Linked DNA regions of Homo sapiens: region 1 is linked to region 2. Evidence: promoter capture Hi-C in 16 types of primary human blood cells and fetal thymus (Javierre and others, 2016). All regions are on one chromosome and are shown on one strand. The core of a region is centred on a gene start or on the middle of the fragment in contact, and the rest is flanking DNA. Distances in the headings are between cores, read along the strand shown. Region 1 holds the start of CARD10 (caspase recruitment domain family member 10). Region 2 holds the start of GCAT (glycine C-acetyltransferase).

The links. Contacts are between HindIII fragments. The CHiCAGO score rates a contact against its expected background, and 5 or more counts as called.
Region 1: the fragment with the promoter of CARD10 here is called in contact with the fragment with the promoter of GCAT in region 2 in 2 of 17 cell types (neutrophils and M1 macrophages); the score reaches 6.6 in neutrophils.

The regions. Positions count from the first base shown.
Region 1 is chr22:37,517,999-37,521,581 of GRCh38, reverse strand. CARD10 (caspase recruitment domain family member 10) reads left to right here and starts at 2,167. Exons shown (of 20, transcript NM_014550.4): 1 at 2,167-2,616; 2 at 3,474-3,583. The coding sequence starts at 2,382. The HindIII fragment of the contact is 26,549 bases long and covers 1-3,583 here.
Region 2 is chr22:37,806,089-37,809,462 of GRCh38, reverse strand. It overlaps GCAT (glycine C-acetyltransferase), which reads right to left and starts at 1,529. Exons shown (of 9, transcript NM_014291.4): 1 at 1,300-1,529. The coding sequence starts at 1,495. H1-0 (H1.0 linker histone) reads right to left here. Exons shown (of 1, transcript NM_005318.4): 1 at 2,031-3,374. The coding sequence ends at 3,334. RefSeq lists a silencer at 1,425-1,714 and an enhancer at 3,143-3,374. The HindIII fragment of the contact is 19,611 bases long and covers 292-3,374 here.

The sequences.
Region 1 (3,583 bases), core at 918-3,417, 290 kb after region 2:
GCTATAGAGAGAAGATGAATGTAGCAGAACTCACAAGAGGACAATAATGAACATGGTACCTAATCACACGCTTGCACACTCGGTGCTATGGACGCCCGGGGACAGGGGAAAGATGAGGAGGCTCAGATGTTTGTGGGGAAGTGGGTACGCCCCTGTCTGCCTCCTGCCTGGCTTGATGCCCACAGTGGGTGGGTGTGTATGTGTGCATGTGTATGTGATGGTGCGTGTGCATGCCTGTATAATTGTACATGTGAATGTGGGAGTGTGGTACCCAAAGGAACTCTGTCGCTTCCCCTGGAATGCTGGGCACCAGGGGCACTCGGTGTACCCAGCTACCTGCCTGTTCAGACCCAGTGTGCCCTCACTTCTCTGTCCACTTATCTGCAGAGACCTCTTGGCTTCTGTGCCTTATCTTTAGGCCCTGCTTAGCTTCTCGATGAAAAAATAATTAACCATAGCCTCATTTTCCAAGGCGTCCATCCCGCTCTGCTGGCCAAGTTAAAAATATTCACGAGGAGTAGGGCTGCTGGTGGGAGGAGCTGCCGCTCTGCGTGGGAGGGCAACCAAGGCCACAGAGAGGGGAAGGACGTATTGAAAGGGAGGTCTGGTGTGTGCCTGGACTCGGGGCTTGGAGAGGACAGAGGCCAGGGGCTGGGCTCCGGCCTATTCCCATTGTGGCCTCGCTGTGTGAATTTGGGCAAGTTCCTTGCCCTCTCTGAGCTCTGCTTCCTCCTTTGTTAATTGAGGAATTTGCACTAGAATTCAGTTCTCCCAAAGCATTTCTTCTGCATGTAAACAGGTGACACCCAAAACAAAAACAAATGTACAACAAATGCAAACCAAAAAAAGGCTGTGGTTAATTAAGTTTGGAAAAGGACACCAGGATATATAAAGTTAAATCTGTTTCTTTACTGCTGGGGCTTTTTTTTTTTTTTTTTTTTTTTTTGAGGGGGAGTCTCATTCTGTTGCCCGGGCTGCTGGAGTGCAGTGGCACGATATCACTGCAACCTCCGCCTCCTGGGTTCAAGCGATTCTCGTGCCTCAGCCTCCCGAGTAGCTGGGATTACAGACGCGCACTACCACGTCTAGCTAATTTTTATATTTTTAGTAGAGATGGGGTTTCGCCATATTGGTCAGGCTGGTCTCGAACTCCTGACCTCAGGTGATCCACTCGCCTCGGTCTCCCAAAGTGTCGGGATTCCAGGCATGAGCCACCGCCCCCGGCCTTAATTTAAGCAGGGCTTTTCAGAGCCTTTATTGATTGAAACCTTAATTCTTTGGATAAGTAATACATATGTCCACGGCATCTAATTCAGAAGTTGTGGAAGGCGATTAGGGAGCTCACACCTCTTTCCTGTACCGGTTGTGCCTCCTCTGTTCCTCCCTGGCAGCAGGTACCTGGCAGCTTCTAATGCATAGCGAGACTGTATCGCATGCACCAGCAGATACCGTGTAGACTCGGCCAGTATCATGGTAAGACACCACCGGCCTCCCAGGCAGGAGCGGGAGTATGGATGGCTAGTCACAGCCCGCCCCCAGCATCTCTGGGACCAACACCTGGAGGAATACCCTTTGAGAATTGTGGGGTCCCTGGTCCTCAAGTGCCACGGGAGTTTGCGTAAGAGGGGAGTTGGCAGTGCTGCCCTGCAGGTTCAGACCCCCATCTTGCAGAAAGCCCCCATGACCTCTGCCCATTGCTGTCCCCCGCGGGGCTGTCCTGCGCTCCAGGGAAGCTCCCGCGCCCGCAGTGCATGTGGGGACCCGAGAAGGGCAAGCCCAGCTTGAGTGCCCGCGGGCTGCGCCGGGCGTGAGCGGCTAGCCCCGCACGGGCGGGCGCGCTGTGGGCGTGGGGAGGCGATGCGCGTGGCCCGGGGAAGGTGTGTCGCGGCGCGCGGGGGGTGTGAGCGCGCCTGCCCGCCCCCGCCCCGCCCAGAGGCCGGGCAGGTGTGGGCGGGCGGCCAGGACCCCGCCGAGCCGGGCTGGAGAGCCGGCGGGAAACAGGAAGCAGGGGGAGGCGCAGCCGGACGGCCGGGAGGGAGGGCGTGCAGACGGACGCGCGGGGTGGCCGGGGGCCGGACGCACGACCCGGGGCGGGCGGCAATGTGGGGAGGCCCGGGCAGCCCAGGAGGCTGCGGGGACGGGGGCGGAGCCGGGGGCGCCACGGGCACCGCCCCCCTGCGCCGGCGGAGCCGCCGCCCGAGTGCGGACCCGGGAGCCCGAGGCGACTGTAGCGTGCGGGGTGAGTCGCGGGGAGCTCGGGGCGCGCCCCCGACGGCGGGTCTGCGGACGACGCCCCGGGGGTGCTTGGCCGCACATCTAGCCCTAGGGAGCCCTGGTCGACCCCCGTGCGCCTCTTGCCCGCAGACCCTGAGGACACGGCCATGCCGGGCCGGGCGGAGGCGGGGGAGGCCGAGGAGGAGGCCGGGGCCGGCTCGGGGTCTGAGGCGGAGGAGGACGCGCTGTGGGAGCGAATCGAGGGCGTCCGGCATCGGCTGGCTCGCGCCCTGAACCCGGCCAAGCTCACGCCGTATCTGCGCCAGTGCCGGGTCATCGACGAGCAGGACGAGGAGGAGGTGCTGAGCACCTACCGCTTCCCGTGCCGCGTCAACCGCACCGGTGAGCCGCGGGTCCCGAGTGGGCCACGACCTGGGCCGGCCGTGCCCTGGGGCGCAGCGCCCACAGCCGTGTAGCGCGAAGCTAGGGCTCTGCTGCCCTGGGGCTCGGTCTCCGCATCAGTAGAGTGGGCCGGCTGGGTATGCCCACCAGCCTGCCTCCTCCCCACCCACCACTGCGCCTTGGCGGTCCGCGTTGCCCACACCGGGGTCAGAGTTTTGTCTCTTGGGGTTCTCTCCCACTTCCTGGGTCCACATTAGAGCAGAAGGTTGGATGTGGCTGCCAGGGCCGGCTGGGCCTGGGACCTCCCGGTCACAGCCGGTGGACTTGGCACCTTTCCTGCGCTCTTTGATCTCCGAGTTCTGTCTGTCCCCTCCTCTGTGCACCATACACTCCTGGGGGAGTCCTTTTTCAAGTGTCAAGATCCGTCTCAGCTTTACGTGGGTCCCCACTCCCACAGGGTGTGCCTTTGAACCAGAACTCAAAAAGGCATGATGGAATGGTCTTTAATGGTGGAATTTCAGGCATGGCCAATGGGAGAAGTATTTTCTTTGCTTCTGGGGATAGAGGGGGCTTCTCTGTGCCATTGAAAAGGCAGGCTGCATTTGCGGGCCGGCATCTGTGTCTGTGGGGGGTGTTGGGGAGCTCTGGGAGCCCAGGAGTCATGAGGGAATGTGCTCCCCTGGCTGTGGCAGAATGGCTCTCTTCTCTTCCCTGATGTGTTGGGACAGGCCCCTGTGTGTGTCACTGGCTCAAAAATCTGGGGAACGTGGGCCTGGAGCATGGTGGGGGCAGAAGCAACCAGGCACCTGGGGAGGCCTTCCCCTAGACCCTGGGTACATCCCCCCACTACTCTGTAGGGCGCCTGATGGACATCTTGCGCTGCCGTGGCAAGAGGGGCTATGAGGCCTTCCTGGAAGCCCTGGAGTTCTACTACCCCGAACACTTCACGCTGCTCACGGGCCAGGAA
Region 2 (3,374 bases), core at 280-2,779:
GACCACCACTGACTCCTTATCTGACCCCTTGGTTTCCTTGAGGGTTAAAGAAGAGGGCTGGATCAGACGCCTGCTGCAGTCCTGGAACTCCACAGTTTACTTTGCTGCCAGAATCACACCCCCAAAGGTAGGTGCCTGAGATACCAGTCCCCGAATTCTAAAGCCCAGAGTGAACACAGCTGACCTTAGGAGCAAACAGCCAGAGGGGAAAGTTCACACAGCCTGGGAAAGGCAAAAACAGGATGAGAACTTGGGTCTCCTAATTTCCCATCTTTTGACCGGCTCTAAGCTTCCCCTGAGGGAGAGAAGGGATTACCTGGGACCTCTGTTTTACAAATGAGTGCAACAGCACCAAGGGTTCTATGCCTATTTCCTGGGCAGAAGGCAGCTTTGGGAGCTTGTTGATGATTACCACTCACCTGAGGCCTGACACGAATAAGTCAGGTGTAACCACTGGTTAGAGTGAAATGAGGGAGGGCTGGGAGTGGTGGCTCACGCCTGTAATCCCAACACTTTGGGAGGCTGAGGCGGGAGGATCACTTGAGGTCAGGAGTTCGAGACCAGCCTGGCCAACATGGTGAAACCCAGTCTCCACTAAAAATACAAAAATTAGCCGGGTGTGCTGGCACGTGCCTGTAGTCCCAGCTACTTGGGAGGCTGAGGCATGAAAATCGCTTGAACCCGGGAGGCAGAGGTTGCAGTGAACCGAGATCTCGCCACTGCACTCCAGCCTGGGCGACAGAGCAAGACGAGACTCCATCTCAGAAAAAAAAAAGGAAAGAAAGAAATGAGGGAGACCTGGCAGGGCCAACTCATCATGTGATTTCTGTGGCAGCCCTGGGACCCCTTGCTTGCTATGAGTTTACCCAGCAAGCTGTCCTCTCTGGCCAGTCAGGCAATGTTCCAGCTCCAATATTCCAGCGCTGCCTGCAGCTAGCTGGGGGCTTTTGGGCAAGCCATTTCACATCTGTGGATTTCAGCCTCTTCGTTTGTAAAGTGGAATTAGTCATTCCTGCGTCTAGAAGTTAGCAGGAGTTCACGTGCAGCAACAATTGGTAGAGACCTTCACAAAGGAGCCGCTCAAGAAATGCGGGTTTTCTTGCTGGGCAAATCGCCTCCCTCCGTCAAAAGGGTTTAACCAGGCAAGAGTCAATATTAGGAAGCCATAAAGTCGCCCTGAGAGATGCGAAGGGGAACAGTAGCTAAGAGTGTAGGAGCCGCCCACCCCCACCTCCAGGACCTCCATTCCAGCGCAAGCTCGGGAAAGGTCTTGGAACGACTCCCGGAACGGAGCGTTACCTCCGGAGACGCCGTCCACGCGGATGTGCGGCCCCTGACGGGACGTGATGACCCGCTCACTCTTCCAAGTGCCAGCTCCGCGGATGCCTTCCAGCTCCCCCTCCAGAATGCCACGCAGCTGGGCCAGCGCTGACTGTGCGCGGCGGCCGCGGGGCACCCAGAAGAGTGCGGCGCGCCAGGCGTTCCCAGGCCACATCGCTCCTACCTCGCCCGAGCGCGCCTGCCTGCCTGGGAGCCGTGCGCATCGCGGACGCAGCCTGGTCGCGTGGCCGGGGGCCGGGCTCCAGCAGCCAATCGGAGCTAGGGGGGCTCGCTTAAAAAGGCGGGGAGGCGGGCCTAGGACGGGTGGGCGGGGCCTGGCGGGATCCGCCAGGGACCGAGAGGCTTGACTTGTAAGTTGAGACTGCCGAAGTCCGGATGGCAGAGGGGAGGGAAGGGGGCGGAGGAAGTCGCGTCAGGGCCAAGCCCACCAGACTCCCCACCGCATTCCCACGTACTCACCTCTCGGCCGGAAATGGGGTACCCTCTGGACCCCAAAGGCAGAAGCCTAGAAGCCGGCTAAGGCACGTTCCGCAGCCTCCGGGACTAAGGATTCCTGGCTTCTGTCCAGCTCCTGAACCCTCCCCCGCCATTCTCAGGTGCAAACGCCCCAGATGTCCCCACTGCCTGCCCGCCTAACCGCTCCGCATTCATTCTCCAGTCTTCAAAGTGAGGAAAAATACACCGCTCAGTTTCTCCCTTTTCCAATTTATTTTAAAGTTTTAAAATTACAAAGACAGCAAAATTTTCCCGGCACAAGTAACACTTGTTTAAAAAAGGGGGTGGGGGGGGGACGCGCAAGTGCGCGATTTTTCTATTTTATTAAAAATAAGAGAAAGACAACTGTACAGGTTTTTTCTCCCAGCTCCCGGGTGTGAAACTAAGTACTAGCCCTAGATATGTATATATACACAAACACACACATGCACACAGATCTAGCTCTGTAAAACTACTTAGCAAATCCCAAATCGACTGCAGTAAGTCTTACTATCCACTGCCCGCCCACTCCCCCTCCCCCTCCCGCAGCTACAACTACTTATAATAAAGGACTCAAAAAGAGATCGGGAGGTTTTAAGTGGCCGCAGCCCCACCAAACCAAGCAAAGACACCTCTTGTACAGGAGGAACAAAAATCCAGAGGAAAAGAAAAGTCTTCCTAGGACACAATCCATCGATTGCGTGGAAAAACCTAAGTTTCAACAGGGCACACTGAGGCACTTGGCTGACTCCCCACCCTTCCCCTGAAGTTTTCACTCCGGTTTAACAAGAGAATTTGCTGAAGCCACAAAGATCCCCCAATGGCTACATCCTAGCTGACTGGGAGAAACTATGGCTTCTCCCATCCAGCTGTCACTTGGACCCCACTCCCCTTCCCTAAGAAAATAGGGAGGCCGAAAGCGCAAACTAACAAAAATGAGAAGGAAACTGGGTTTGGGCCCCCACTGCTCACCACTGGGAGGTGGAAGTCAGCCCGGTGGCGGTTTTTTTCCCCCTCCTTCCTTTGCCGGCTGGCTGCTCCCTACCACCTCTCTCCTGCTGGCCAAAGGTTCTGAAACTCTCACAACGGGTGCCCAACTCAAAGAAAACTCACTCACCCTAAAGATATTCCTGCTAACCTCACAATTCCTGGGTTCCCTCTCATCTAGCCAGAACAAACTGCCTTGTGTCTTCTCCCCACCCACATCTACCTTCATGGCAAACAAGCCAACAAAACACACAAGCCCCCCCCGCAAATCCCTAACCCCGTAAGTAGGTTAATAGCAAAACAAAATATAAGTACATTCTCATCATTAGATTGGTTGTTGCTGTCCTTGCACAACTGGTTAAGGAAAAATGAATTATTCTGTAATTTCTGAAGAATCCAAATCCTGTCTCTTATAAAGTCAGAACAGAAGGGGGCAAAAGGTGGTGGTGAGCATCAAGAGAGAAAAAAGGAGAAAATTATTTACAGAAAATAGGAGACAGGAGGGAGTGTCCGCAAGAAAAGACTTCATTGTCACTTCTTCTTGCCGGCCCTCTTGGCACTGGACTTTGCTT